2 separate regions of the Homo sapiens genome follow, and region 1 is linked to region 2. Evidence: promoter capture Hi-C in 16 types of primary human blood cells and fetal thymus (Javierre and others, 2016). All regions are on one chromosome and are shown on one strand. The core of a region is centred on a gene start or on the middle of the fragment in contact, and the rest is flanking DNA. Distances in the headings are between cores, read along the strand shown. Region 1 has its middle 26 kb from the start of LINC01874. Region 2 holds the start of SH3YL1 (SH3 and SYLF domain containing 1).

Region 1 (3,204 bases), core at 52-2,551, 200 kb before region 2:
GCCCGCGCGTCCTCGGTCATTGCGTTTGTCCGGGGAGCTTGCGCGGCGTCTCCCGGCTCCCTGGGCGGGCTCTGCGCCCCAGGCCCCGCGCTCACTCTGGCTCGGTGTCGACCCCCTCGCTGGCCCATGCAGCCTCGTCCTGCCCCTCGCGGCTCCTCCGCCCTGGTTTCTGCGTCCTTCCCTCATCCGCTCGCCACAACCCGGCGGAGCTGCCCAGCCCAAGGTGCAGTGTGCGCCCCTGGGACGCGCCTCTGAGAGCCACGAGGGCCCTGAATGCACAGCGCGGGAGTTTCAGGCCCAGGAGTGACCGCCTGCACTTGCGCGCTCATTAACTCTTCTCTGCCTGCCTGGGCCCCCGGCGTGAGTGGGAATCACGGCCCACGGACGCCTGGGATGACTCGGCCTTGCGCCCCGGCGTGCAGCAGGTCTCTGGGCAGGTCTCTGGGCGCAGCGAACCCTGGTCTGCCGGGAGCTCCTTCTTGACCTTCCTTCCTCCACAAGAAGGGAGCGCCTCCCGACAGGCCACAGGCTACATCATTTTGGATTATGCAATAAAATGCTTGGTTTGTGCGCGTACAAGGGCACCAGCTAATGCCCCAGGGCAGGGCTTACTGTGGCCACTGCTGAACCAAATAAAAGCCCACGTGATGTGGAAACTGCATGGAATAATACGTTGTCTGGACAGGCGTCACTTACAAATCTCGAGACCGGGTTCTTTGTGTAAATGGTACTTTACTTTTAAACAGTTTAGGAAAAGCCCAGTTATCTTTCATTCACACGCCTGTTCTCTGTCCCGGGTGGGTGCCCCTGCTGAGCGGACAGAGCACCACCCCCACCCATGCAGGGGCCACAGAGCCAGCTCCGGGCGGGGCGGGGAGGGCCTCTCCACTCCCCATAGCTCAGGAGCTGCTCTCCCTGGCAGGTGGGCTGCCAGGAAGGGTGAACAGGAGGAGGCTTTGGGGCCAGGCCCGCGGGGACCCTAGAGGAGCCTGTGCAGTCCCAGGAAGAGAAGAAGCTGGAGAGGGATTTCTCCCTGCCGGCTCCAGACGCATCTGCACAGCCTCCCAGGGCCCAGGTGGGAGGGAGGACGGGTTCCTGCAGCTGCCTGATGGGGACACTGGGGCGCCTGCCGATCGCAGACCAGACCTGGACACGTGGGTTCAACTCTCTGCATTTCGAATTCAGTTTTTCTAAGACGAAATAATGCCAGGATCCCTCTGCGGGATCGTTTCGAGGATTAAAGGAATTTATTAAGGGGCAAGTGCAGAAGGGAGCCGGGCAGCCAGTACATCTGATGTCATTGGTGGTTCTGAATAGTTTCTGGTATTTTATTCAAAATGTTAAAATATTTCATTTAAAACGTAGGCTTTGGTTTGTAGTGTGAGTTAGGGATCCAATAACAGGCAGAAAAAAAAATCCTTGCCAGAAAAATAAATAGACGGTGAAATAGTCACACAGTAAAGGGTTGGTTAACAGTGAAGAAGGATGAAGGCAAGATGCTCACGGTCCCGTGAACGAACCTTCGGAACTCGGAGGAGACTGGAAATTCCTAGCGAGTGAAACGCTACCTTAGAGGCCCTCAGGGCCGGGTGCTGTGGCTCACGCCTGTAATTCCAGCACTTTGGGAGGTCGAGGCGAGTGGATCACAAGGTCAGGGGATCGAGACCATCCTGGCTAACACAGTGAAACCCCATCTCTACTATCAGTACAAAAAATTAGCTGGGCGTGGTGGCGGGCACCTGTAGTCCCAGCTACTCGGGAGGCTGGGGCAGGAGAATGGCGTGAACCCGGGAGGCGGAGCTTGCAGTGAACCGAGATCGCGCCACTGCACTCCAGCCTGGGCGACAGAGCCAGACTCCGTCTCAAAAAAAAAAAAAAAAAAAGAAAAAAAGAAAAAAAAAGAAGTCCTCAGGTCCCCCTTAACAGATGAGGAATGAAGATCAGGGGCTACAGTCATCAGAGATAACCTCCATGGTGAAAAATAGACAGCTGGGTGTTGGAAGGCCTGAGCGTGATGAGATTCCCGTCTATCTGGTGACTGGAAGGCGCCGTTTCTTCCATGACTGAAATGGACACATTCATTTTTTTGTCTACTTCTCAAGGGAAATGTGTGGCTCGGCTGAAACAGCAGGAAATCTGTGAAATCCTTCGCAAACACCAGCTATTCAAGCTATTTTTAACCCTGAACTAGAAAACAGGTGTCTCGCCTATTGCCAGCCCTTAAGAGAATAATTAAAACAGTTGCTTCAAAATGTGGAAACTTCAGGATTGATTAAAATGTTTCTCAGTGTCAGGATTGATTAAAATGTTTCTCAGCGTCCTAGGGGCAGGGATGTGGCGTGATGGGCCCACCTTGTGTACATGCTGTGGTGGGACAGCGTTGTAAAAACACGTTTATTTGTAGAAAAGTACTAAAGTCAGGACGGCTTTTTATAGAATGACCTCAAGTTTTACAATTTTTCGTCATATATAACACAAGCGCCATTTTCTTTGTTTTAAATAAATTTCCTGGTTGTATGCATCCTCAAATATTCTGAAACAGCCTTCCGCAGAACCACAGACCTGGATGTAGCTAGTCGATCAAACAGACCCTGAGCCCAGTGGAGGCTTACGCATCTGGAAATCCTGGTTTCCAAATTATGTGACCTTTTTCTGCCTTATGTCATAATTAGAATTGTTATGAAACAGATTAAATTCTTTATTGAGCATATAGACGGCTGAGAAAGATAAGCAGAGCCCAGGTTTTTCAAGTGGGCAAAGTCACAGGCATCCACACGGCCAGCTACTTCTCATTCGCTCTTCAGCCCCTATGTTTGATGACCTACCACCACAGAGCGTCTCTGAGAAGGGCCAGGAGCTCTGAGAACAAAACAGACACCGTCCCTGAACCTTCGACGCTTTCACATAAAAATAAACTCTCCTTTCAGATTTGGATTAGTCAGGACCCAATAGAAGTCGGGAATAATAGTGCAATTAGAGAGGTGGCTGTCTCATGATGATAGACTCCACATTCCAGGGCTAGGAATGGACTAAGTAAGTGCCAGCCAGGCGGGTCCCGCTCACCGCCCCTCGCTGAGCCCAAAACCAGCTGCACGAGTTAGCTCTATGGCCCCTGCTGCCCTGTGGCCGCTGCCAGTTGGGGGCTCTGAGACCTGCTGGGCCAGAAGAAACCCCCAGGCAGGAAATGAAACCCAGCGGATGCCC
Region 2 (3,192 bases), core at 277-2,776:
ATAAAATACACTTTCATTTTTCATGGGCCAAAGTTATATAGGGACCTCCAGGTCTCCTTTGCTTGGCTTTTACAATCAAGAAACCCGAAACCGTAAAACTTCATCTCCCTTTAACTCAGATCCCTATCTAAGCATGGGCTAAGGAAACTAGCAAACAAAACAATGTTGTCATAGGACTCAGGAGGCCCCTAAGAGACCACATCAGTCCGACAACCTCCAGGCCTACCTGGGCCCATTGGAGGGGAACGAGAGGGATTCTAGTAGTCGCAAAGAAAGTACCTTGGCTTGTAGGGGCTGTGGCTGCAGATGCCAAGAGCCCCGGATATATGGCAGGCGCGAGGGGACCCAGGTTTAGCGGGCAGGCTGGGCGGGTGCACGGGGCGGATGGGGAACAGGGGCGCTGCGGCACACTCCTAGAACACCCTAGGCCTCCCAGTCCCTGGCCTCCTCCCCCTCATGGTTCCTAGGCCGGCGGCACAACCTACAGCGCACAAGCCCGATCCAACTCTCCAGAGGACGTCAGAACATGAGTAAGTCGGCGCCCTCTTACCCAGACACACAAACAGCACGGACTTGGTAGCCTGTTCCGCCATCTTCCCGCGCGCAGAGGCGCCGAGACACCGCGGCGTTCCGCACGCCGACGCGGCGCAGGCGCACTGCCACCCTCTTGCCCCGCGCGCCTGCGCAGTCCCGCACCAACGCCAACAGGGCAGCGCGTGTGAGAGCCACGCCTGCGCAATCGGCTCCAGTGCGCCTGCGGAGGCGGTCCTATGACGGTAGTAGGACGGGCGGGGAGGGTCCGCGGGTCACCTGCAGGGACTGGGCCGCCGTTCACCTGCAGGGGCGGGGCTGCAGGTTGTCCGGAGGAGGAGGAGCTGCGGGGGTGGGGTCACCTGGAGGGAGTAGGGCCGCGGAAGGCGAGGGGGTGTGTGTGTGTGGTGGCGGGGGTTGGCGGGGGGGAGTCACCTGGAGGGGGCGGGGCTGCGGGTCGCTTGGAGGGGAAGGAGCCGCGGGAGGTAAAGGTTACCTATAGGGGACGGGGCCGCAGGAGAGGGGTACCTGGAGGAGGAAGGGCCGCGGGTCACCTGCAGGGCGGGCTCAGGCCTCGCGGCTCCGCGGGCCGCCCACCTGGGTTGGGGCACAGCGCGAGTCTCGCGCACGTGGCGGGCTGTGGTGCCTGTCGTTCGAGTTCGCATAGAGGGGCTGGGCGGGTCACGCGGGGAACCTGCCTTGAGCCCCGCGGGGTCCACGCCGGACCAGGGCGGCCTTGGGCCTGGGCGCTCCCTGAGACCCCCACCCCCAACACCGTGCTTGGAGCCGCCGCGGGGCTCTGGGCTTTTCGATCTTGAGGACGGGGCGGTTCCGAAGTCCCTGAGGGCGAAGGCCTGAGCGCGGCCCGGCGGGCGCGTGGTTTTTGTCCCGCGAAACGTACACGGCGGGTGTTTTGCGCCGCCTCCTTCGTCACCTGCCGCAGGTACGCCCTCGCTGGGGCCTCCTTGTCCGCGGGGCGGGGCAGCGCGCCTTCCTCTTCCTGGGCAGCCTCGGGACGGGGCGCCGCGGCCGGGCGGGCAGCAGTGAGTACCCGGGGACCCACCTGTCCGGCAGCACCCTCCCCTCTCAAGAGCTGGGCGGTGGTGGGAGGAGGAGGACGGGAAAACCGGCGATGCCTCTGGGGTTTCTAGGTCGCGCGTCTGTTAACCGCAAACCGCCCAAAGTTAAGATAGAGCAGCTTCCAGGACTTTCTTGACCACAGCGATTTTGATTGAAGTTTAGCCACCGTCTTTTCCATTTTTAGAAAAGCTATTCCGAAGTTTGGAATGATGACGATGGTCGTGTTATTTTTAACTTCCTGATATTTGAACGGCGAGGTGTCAGCGACCATCCTTCCGTTCCACAGAAGCGTCTCTGAAGTTTGGGTCGAATGCGCGCGCTTGGAATGTGCGTGGAACCCGCGGCAGGCGCGGGGAGGAGGCCTTGGCTAGGGCGCCGGCGAGGTTCGAGTTTGCCAGCCCCCCAACCTGGAAGAGAAGGGCCAGCCCCTCACACCCGGAAGGGAAGGGCCGGTCCCCCCAACACCTGGCGCCGGGGTCGCGGGGCCACAGGGCGAGCGCGGGGTCGCGGCGAGCACGGGTCCTCTCTGATCGCTGGGCCTTGGCGCTGGCTGCTGAGTTTTTCCTTCTTTAAGGAAGTGTGGAACTGGTCTCAATCGGTTGACCACCTTAAGGAAATAGGATTTACACTGTGGACAGAGATGTGTCCTTTACACTTCATTTGAACCAATATGCCCATGCTCCTGTGGAGGCTGAGTTGGAAAGTGACACGAAGCTGCCCCCCCGCAAGAGAGCAGGTGCTCGGTTTCTCTTCTGCTTACAGGAGATGCATGTCCTGATTTCTTGTTCTCCTAGGTGTTTTTATTGAGATGTAGGGAATATCTGAATTCATAACGACTTAGAAAATCTGTACACACAGTTGAGAGAACAGGTCTCGAGGCTAAGGTGCTGTTTACTCCCGTGGGCTGGCCTGTTATTAAAATACTTGTGCAGCGACTGATGTTTACAAATTACTATGTTGGAGGTTAAAATGATCAAAGTGATAACCTCCATCCTGTCTATCATGTTTGAGGAGAATTGGTTATTTGGTTCACTAATGTTCTGTTTAAAGAAAATTTCTGTAAAACTAGTAAATGTTACCCCTCATCTTTTGTAAGTTAAAAAAAAGTTTAAAATAATGTTTGCTCATCAAAAGTGATTTGATACTTTTGTTCTGTTTAGGAAAACTTTATTCTCAAGAGATTTCTCATTCCGCAGAAATAAGGATCTGGCATGTCAACACAAACATAGGAAGTTGAGGCAGTCAAAGGGAAATAACTGCTACCCTGACTCTGCTGAGAGCCTCACAAGTCCCTGTGCACGCCAGCTTGTTTGCCAGTGAGTGGCGTCATGATAAGACAAAATTCTCTGCTCTGAGACCTAAGCACATGAAGTTTTTAAAAAAATTTTCTCTGAGAAGATCCCATTTTTTACTCTAAAAGATCAGACCAGTGTGGCATGTGTGGAACTGCTCTGTACCAAGATCACACTCTTCAGTTGGAGAAGAGGAAGGGCAGGAATAAATAAAGGGCTTTCCTGTCTCCCGAGGGAGCAGAGAAAGCTTTCGCTGTCCTCTTCCTTCCCCAGCCACAGCCTGGGGTTG

Evidence for each region. The method cuts DNA at HindIII sites, captures the fragments that hold promoters and counts their contacts. A CHiCAGO score of 5 or more calls a contact.
Region 1: a contact is called between a fragment that was not itself captured here and the fragment with the promoter of SH3YL1 in region 2, in 1 of 17 cell types (naive B cells). The highest score is 6.0, in naive B cells.

What each region holds. Positions count from the first base shown.
Region 1 is chr2:465,063-468,266 of GRCh38, reverse strand. No RefSeq gene overlaps it. Among named protein-coding and RNA genes, the nearest start is that of LINC01874, 26 kb to the left of the region's middle. The HindIII fragment of the contact is 8,460 bases long and covers 1-3,204 here.
Region 2 is chr2:262,366-265,557 of GRCh38, reverse strand. It overlaps SH3YL1 (SH3 and SYLF domain containing 1), which reads left to right and starts at 1,526. Exons shown (of 10, transcript NM_015677.4): 1 at 1,526-1,574. The coding sequence starts at 1,574. ACP1 (acid phosphatase 1) reads right to left here and starts at 611. Exons shown (of 6, transcript NM_004300.4): 1 at 551-611. The coding sequence starts at 593. RefSeq lists an enhancer at 501-550 and silencers at 901-980, 1,051-1,630. The HindIII fragment of the contact is 12,050 bases long and covers 1-3,152 here.